2 separate regions of the Homo sapiens genome follow, and region 1 is linked to region 2. Evidence: promoter capture Hi-C in human tissues and cell types (Jung and others, 2019). All regions are on one chromosome and are shown on one strand. The core of a region is centred on a gene start or on the middle of the fragment in contact, and the rest is flanking DNA. Distances in the headings are between cores, read along the strand shown.

What was found. Contacts are between HindIII fragments. The study calls those that stand out against the background at their distance.
Region 1: a fragment that was not itself captured here is called in contact with the fragment with the promoter of INTS6 in region 2 in 1 of the 25 tissues and cell types used here (lymphoblastoid cells).

Annotation. Positions count from the first base shown.
Region 1 is chr13:50,156,184-50,160,429 of GRCh38, forward strand. All of the region lies in intron 2 of DLEU1 (deleted in lymphocytic leukemia 1), which reads left to right. Among named protein-coding and RNA genes, the nearest start is that of DLEU2, 33 kb to the left of the region's middle. The HindIII fragment of the contact is 5,908 bases long and covers 1-4,246 here.
Region 2 is chr13:51,451,718-51,455,502 of GRCh38, forward strand. It overlaps INTS6 (integrator complex subunit 6), which reads right to left and starts at 1,319. Exons shown (of 18, transcript NM_012141.3): 1 at 698-1,319; 2 at 261-338. The coding sequence starts at 808. It overlaps INTS6-AS1 (INTS6 antisense RNA 1), which reads left to right and starts at 1,628. Exons shown (of 2, transcript NR_103812.1): 1 at 1,628-1,701; 2 at 2,286-2,999. RefSeq lists silencers at 1-124, 195-334, 345-464, 475-744, 985-1,244 and 2 more and an enhancer at 1,305-1,354. The HindIII fragment of the contact is 6,572 bases long and covers 1-3,785 here.

The DNA of each region.
Region 1 (4,246 bases), core at 169-2,668, 1.3 Mb before region 2:
GAACTGGCTTCCAGCAGAGAGATTTTGTGGCTTCTGTATCCTGCCGCTGCACTTCTCCCTTCTCCAGCCTCCTTTCTATTTGGTGGTGCAGAATCACCTTGGTCAGCCCTTTGACCTTGCCTGGAAAAAAGTCCTCATCAGTGAGTGAGTGTGAGGTTAGAGTGATAAAGATTCTAAAGGAATGCCTTGTTTTGATTCAAATAGTTGGATTAGTCACAGAGTTACTTAATCCACACACATAGTAGAATCCTCCAGCAAGCTTCTTTGTTTTCATCAGAGCTTTTGAGAGATTATTATATTATATCTCTATCTTTTAAAGATAGAGTAGAAATCCATCTATGAAGAATAGTTTTAGGTGCATTCCTGCCTGAACACACATTTGGACAGTCTTATAATTATGTATCTTCCCGAGATGCATTTTGAGCCATTTCTACCCAGAACTTAAAAAAATATTTCCTATGAGTGCTGGAGGTTCTTGCTTCTCTTAACCCACTAACTTTTTGAAGCCATAAGAATATCTTATTAAGGATTATGCAAAATAACGTCCTACAAATCCTGATATTATTACACTGCCCAAAAAACTTCAAAGCATCAGGAAAGTGTTGTGTTTTTTTTTTTTTTTTTTTTTTTTTAACTAAACCAGATTCAGCTGGCTACCCCACTTGGCTACAGAGTACTAAAGAAGAGACTGAACTTGATCCTGCTGCCCTTGCATACACAACACTCCCATTGACGCTAGTGAAGACTTAAGCGCATGAAAGGATTCCAGGATCAAAAGGTTAGCTCTATGGGGAGCTGTGTCTGGCTCAAGCAATCCATTTTTTTCTATTGACAGTGAAAACGTTTTATAGTTCTTTTTCAAAGTTTTCCCAAACTTTTACAATAACAGGCAACTTGTGAAAAAGTGAGAAGGCATCTAATTGAACTATATCCAGAGGAGATCATGGCAGAGACCAACAGGAAGAAAAACATTTCCAAACCACAGCGATATTGGTCAAATCAATTGTATTTGAAGAATAAAGCATTTGAGGCGTCGGCTGAGAAAAATTTTCATTATGAAACTTGGTTGGACTATGAAGCAGAATGTGAGATAAAATAAAACACAGAGCTCATGAGTTTTTATCTTTGTCTGCTAATGACTTATGCTAGCAGGATTATACTTTTTTTTTGCATTTTATGAGATGTATGAACTAGGAAGAAAATACATGCTATATCTAAATGGATTAGACGTGCAGATTCTTAACTAACATTTAATTCATTGCTAGTAAAACAAATGCCTTAAAACATTTAAAAAAGTGAAATTATCTTAAGGAGATAATTAACAAGCAGAGTAGAATAGCATTTTTGAAGAAAGTGTAATATGGTTCTACACTGGCATTTTCTGCATTTATTGAAGATACTTAGTCTATCCAACAATTCACTCATTCATTCTTTCATGAAACCCTGTCTCTACTAAAAATACAAAAAAAAATTAGCTGGGCACGGGGGTAGGCCCTTGTAGTCCCAGCTACTCGGGAGGCTGAGGCAGGAGAATGGCGTGAACCCGGGAGGCAGAGCTTGTAGTGAACCAAGATCGCGTCACTGCACTCCAGCCTAGGTGACAGAGCGAGACTCCGTCTCAAAACAACAACAACAACAACAACAACAACAACAACAACAACAAATTTCTTTGTGCACTTACTATATGCCCAATGCTAATCTAATAGTTTTACAAGACCTCAATTGAACAAGTGTCTGAGGAAATGGATTGCATCTAATAAAGCAAGACACACCAACTGTGGATGGGTGGTGTGTCTAGAGTATTTTGCATTCCTAAATCACTCTTCTGGAGAAAATTTGTATCAATAATTTTGTCTAGCTTCACCTGGAGTTACACATTTTGATTGGTAAGTGGCTTCTGTGATTTGCCTCTTAGAAATACATTATAATGTTATCCTAATATATGTACTAGGACAGACAATGCTACGTTGAACTAACTTGAATAGCATATTTTATAATCATAAAACTGATATAATATTATAGTTTTGATCTTAATCCTCCTCTATTGTATGAGCAATGGAAAGTCTTGGTGAGGAGCTTGTCTAAACATTTCTCTTGCATTTTCACATAATTGGGCTTGACAGTTTCCTGCCATTGTATAGGATAACTTCAGTTGATGGTGATCATGTTTTTGCTTAAGGGTCATTGAATTGTATTAGAAATTTTATACCATATTCTTGTAATCCTATAAGTCATTTTTGAGTTACATTATTGAAAGTGAACAATAATGTACCACAAAACAAAAGTTACTCATGCAGTTAAAGCTTTTTTTTGTACCTAGGTTTAGAAACTACAAGTCCACAGAGAATAGGGCTCGTGAAATAAATGAAAATACACGCTCATCTCCACCCACTCCTTGTTGTTGGGGCCTGGTCAGATCTGGTGAAAACATTAAGCCATTTGCCTTAAGTGGTATTGGCAAGTTAATTTATTCACCTTCTGGAAGGTACCAGGCTAGTGCTTGCAGAGGCAAGATTTTTTTTGGGTGAAGGGAGCAAACTTTTCCACTTAACATGTGCCCATGGAAATCAGGTACTTCTTTTTTCAGCTACCTTAGCTTCTGTTGGGAATTTGAGGGTGTTTTATGGGTTATGTTCTTATACGGTGGTTAAGTAGGCTTGCTGAAATGGATCTAGAAAAGACCCAGGTCAGTCACTGGTTGAAAAAGGGTTGACAGAAAATTAAGGAGATATGACTGAGAGCAGTTTCTCTTTCAGGTCCCCAAATTTCTCCTCTAGCCAATTCACATTAAGGTCTGAAATTTCCCCCATTGGTGTCATTCCGGCCATTGTTTCCAGAAGGGACTTTCAAAAATGCAAATATGTTCCTGTGGAGCATTTGCACATTTGGTGAGTTTGTCAGCCTAAATGAGCAGTTATCTTTGGAACTAAGAAAGAAGGGTCTTAACAGAGAACCAGGTTGGAGGAAGAAAGATCCTGAGAACATTCATGGGAGGTAGGCCAGGGGAAGACATACAGCATGAAACTTTGGCAGTTTAGAAACAAGGGGGATAACTCTTGTTAAGAGAGCTTAAGGGTCACAGAAGACAAATATAGGTCATTTCACAGCCTAATTTGGAGTTTGATCTTCACAGTAGCTCTTTATGGGAGATCAGAAGGCCTTAGCTCAGGTATGGGGAAAAGACTTCCTGTGAAGTCTTTATTCTGCTTGATCAAGGCTGCTTGAGGGTGTCAAGGGGTTCAAGAGAAGTTCTGAGGCCAAGTTCAAACTCAAGGGAAATAATTCTCTCATTTCATGATTTGTGCCATGGATCCATGAAGGAGTGGTCATCACGACCTCAGACTCTGCTGCATTTTTGGAGGGTTTAGTAAGTCGGCAATGGCAGTGACAGCTCAGTCCAGTTCTCACAGTGTGAGAAGAACTTGGGACATCCAGCTAATGGATCTACAAGAGTTCCAGGTGGCCCTGAAGAACTTCAGCACTTCTCCTTGCATATTTGTATTAACCTGGAAAATTGCTTCTTGAAGAGAAAAGGAAGTGATATTTTTAGAACAGGATCAGTATTTCCAGCACATTTATTAATGGGCTAGCTCCTCAGTGTTTACATGGCAACAGGATAAACTATTATTAGTACTGCTCACATCATGAGGTATCAGGATGTTTTTTGGCGTGGTAGACCATCTATTCAGATGAGGAAGTAGAGTGCATCCATTTATGAATTTATTGTTGACATTTCAACTGTAATTCTTTCTCAGTTTCTTCCCTAATGTCAGGATACAAATTTTCATATCCTTGAGAGAGGATTTTTTGGGAGGGGCAATAAAGACAAATTTTAAAATTGAAAATAAATAAACTGGCAATCCCATAAAGCTCTTGATCATATTTAGACCAGTGAGTGTTTCCTGAATGTTTTTGATGTTTCTGATCCTGTGCTGAGCACTGTGGGGGATGCAAATGAAAGAAATAATACATGGTTTCTACCCTCAAGGAACTTATAATTTATTAAGACACATAAGGCACTTGAACCAGTTAAATAATGAGAAAAGACAGTATATGACACATAAATGCTTTAGAAGTTTAGAAAAAGGAAGGAACAGCAGGGTTATTTAAAGAGCTAAAATTCCTGTAGCTTGCTTCTCTTACTTTATTGGTGGATGACTCCAAAACTCTGTAAGAAGGGGAATAGGGAGAATGGAAGGAGTCTTACCCATCTCTTACTTCCTTATGCAATGTTGTTCATGTACAG
Region 2 (3,785 bases), core at 69-2,568:
CAGCGCCGCCGCCGCCGCCGCCGCCGCCGCTGCCGGGCCGGGCCGGGAGGGGACGGCGGTGGCCCCGCGACTCCGCGCCGCGCTAGGACGCTGCCGAGCGGGGGAGGGGGTGGGAGCCCGCAGGGAAGAGACCTCAGCGGCTGGGAGCGCAGCGGGTGGGGGAGGGGAGCATAATGAAGGGTGAATGGGGGGGCGGGGAGGGCGAGCGAGGAAGGAACAGGGAAGGGAAGGGAGGAAAGGGGGAGGGCGAGGGCTGTTACCTTGATAGCATAGGGCGGCTCTTCGAAAGTGACCAGCATATACCTGTCTCCTCTGCTGGCAGGGTCCCGGGCACGGAGCTGCGGGACGGGAGGAGGAACAGGGCGGGCGACAGGGAAGCACAGAGGCGAGGTTACGAGGCGGAGAAGGGGCGCCCAGCGGCCCCGCCGCCCCCACAGTACCGCACACGCAGCGGCCACCCCTCCACGCCGTCCCCCACACACAGATCGCTCCCCACACACCGCCCGGGGCCGGAGCCCGGGCCCCGGCCGAACCCGGCTCGCAGCGCCCGCCCGCCCGCGCGGTGGGGGAGGGGGTCCCCGAGCCCGGCAGCTCCCGCAGTCAGGTCCCCGACACCCCCGCCCCGGCCGCCCTCCCCCACCCTGCCGCCCGCGGGCCGCCGGGCCGGGGTCGCCGCCCGGGCTCGGTCAGTCGGTACCTTCATGAAGGTCTCTACCGCGCCTTTGGCCGTGTCCAGGTAGGTGGTGCCCAGATGGCTGCGCTGGTTCATAGAGGCAGACGTGTCTATCAGGAACAGTAAGATGGGCATAGTGCTGGCCGGGGACACCGGGGCCCGAGGTGGTGGAGAAAGAGGAGATGGTAGAGGTGGAGGCGCCGGTGGCGGCGACCGCCGCTACGCGGGGCGGGGGAGCACGGCCCCCGGGAGGAAAACACTGTCTGGGTCTTTCCTCCGGCTGCGGGGAGTTTCTCCCCCGATAGTTGAGAGGAAACTCCCCAGACCCAGTGCTCCCCGTCGTACCCCCGCCTCCGCCTCCTCCTGCCTGCCTGCCCGCTGGGGCGGGCGCCCAGCCGTCTGTCTGTCGGTTCGTCCCCCCCGCCTCGGGGGTCCCGTCCCCGCTCCCGGCCCCTGTGTGTGTCCCAGCGGGAGACGGGCCTGGCTCCCCACCCCACCCCCGGTACAGGAGTGGGGACCTGGGAGCTGGCGAAGAGGGGAGTGGGCTGAGGGAAGATTGGCCCTGGGGCTGTTGGGAGAAGTTTCAGGGACTCCCTCCGCACCCCGGCGGTGTCACCACTTTCTCAGCCCCTCTCGCTACTGAAGCGCTTTTCTCTCTCACACTCCGGTTTTAACTCGGGCAGGGGCTGCGGAGGCTCCGCCCCTGACACGTCCCCGAGCCACGTGATACACCGCCTCGCCGTTCTACTGGTCAGGCCCTATCCTTTCATTAGCATATTTAAACAGCTCAGGGGCGGGGGAAGCTTGTAGGCCGGCTCCGGGGACAGTTATTGAGCACGCGCAGAGGCGGGGCGTCGGGTGCGCGCGAGCGGGCGGGCGGGCCGACCCGGAGGCGGGCTTCGGGAAGGGGCGGGGCCGGACTGCGGAAGGACCGCGAGGTGGGGGCGGGGGCCGCGTCCGCGCGCGCGGGGCGGCCGCGGCGGTGAGCCTGCGCGTCAGGGCCGCCGGCCTCTCCTTGGCTGTTGGAGGTGATAGGGGTCGAGGGGAGGGAAAAAGGGGCTGGCGTCAGCCGCCCCTGTGAGGTGGCCGTAGCGTGGACGAGTAAGAAGGGTTGAGTAAAGTGGACAAACACCTGGTTAGGAGAAGAGGGCAGGCCCGCAGCCGCCCTCCGGAGGAGGACTCGGGGCCTCGCGGGCGCCGGAGGAGGTTCCTGGGCCTCGGAGGGCCGCCCCGGCGCGCCGCCCCGGCGCGAGCGGGCGCGGGCGGGGGAGGGGAAGTGAGAGGTTGTTTATGACCGGGGACTAATCTCCTCCGCGAGTCCCAGCGCTCCCTCTGGGGAGTGCGGTTGAGGGGCTGTCCTCGCACGGAGCCTCGCTCGGCCTCGGGGGAGCCACGAGAGGTGGGAGTTGGACCCGCAGCGGGCCAGGAGCCCTGTCATTGGAGGACCCGCCAAAAAGGAAGCAAACCCTCTTTTTCTTTATCCAACCCCAAATAGCTAGGGCCTAGGGGGAAGACTCACATATCGATAAATGGTTTGTTGCCCGTTTTATTCTCTGGGAAATACAACTGATCTTACCAAAGAAATAACCTGTCTCTTGCCGTGTTTACTTAGAGCCATAGAATACCTGTTTCAGAGCTGAAGGGGACCTGAGCCCATGATAATCCATTACCTCGTGAGAAAGCGGAAAAACTGACTTCAGCTTGCCCAGATGGCGCAGAGAATGGGTTTCCCGTAACCCCGCCTGTGTCTTTCCTTCAGCCTCGTCCCAAATGCCGTGGGAGGGAAGGCACTCTCTGTCAAGCTGCTGTCACCTTACCTGAAGTAAGGAGTCCACGCCTGCATGTCCGAGGAAAACAGTTTTCTCAAACACATTAGTTGAAAAACTGAAGACGCTGCCTAAAATACAAGCTGAGTTAGAGACAGCCCTTGTAAGACTAGGTAGGTATTTACAGGGCCTCTCCCACTAGCTTTGTTTTTCCAGAGTTTGTTCTTTATCCGGAAATTCTTAATTTGCCTACTGATCATTTAAAGAAAGGGTTCTATTAACATTGACACAGAAGAGACACTTTGTGGCACTTTTTAAAAATCTGAGTCTCGTGACTTGGTATAACTTCTGAAACTTACTGTTAATTTATAGCAGAGCTATTTGAGTAATATGCTCTTCTATGAGTATGAACAATAGAAGAAGTGTGATTTTTAAAGTGATTTGGACTACAAAATAAGAGCATGGAATATAGGCTTTACAGCCAGTACTTGCTGAGGATGTACTGTGTATTAGGTGTGGTGCATATAAAAAATAAATAAAATGTGGTCCCTGTCTTCAAAGAGCTTATGTTTTCTAGGAAAATGCTACATATTACTAGCTACTCCAAGGCAGAAAGTTGTTAGACACCAAATCAGAAAAAATAAAAATGTATTACCTTGGGGTGATGCAGGAACATTTTCCAAGGTTTCAGCTTTGCCTTAGTGTTTCTTAAACGGATCATAGATCTGAAGATAAGAATCAGAGTTCTATGGCAAAATACGAGTTATTTTACCAGTTATAAAGATGAAATTTGTCTTTCAACTTGATCATTTGCATAATTTTATACAATTGCTCTTTAGTTCTTTATATTTGTGCTTTTCAAACTGGTCTGTGGACCCCAGCCTACTGAAAACATTCTCTAGGATCATAAGAATTTATTTTAGGAGTCTGTTCATTATTCAGTTTTAAGAAACACTGTCTTAAAGGACTGGTAGGATTTGGATATGGGTAAAGGAAGGGGAAGCTGCTAGTGAAAAGATCTTCCCGACATTGAAAATGTGAAGAAAGGAAGTTAAGACAGCATTGCTGAGGGCTTCCTGAGGAACAGTGAAGTTCAGCTAGGTTGGAGCAACAGGTGCATGTAGAATAGTACAAGATCTAGAAACACAGGTGAGATCTAGACAGTAGAGGGCCTTTATTCCAATCTATGGAGGTTTTTTTTCCCCTATAAATTGGAGATTTATTTTTCAATTGCGTTGCTAAGTAGAAGCAATGTTTGAAAGAAATCAAACTAGACTACTGAAGATTAACATGCGTTCACAATGACCTTACCTATTATTACAGTTATTCGAAATCATTTTTCAGTG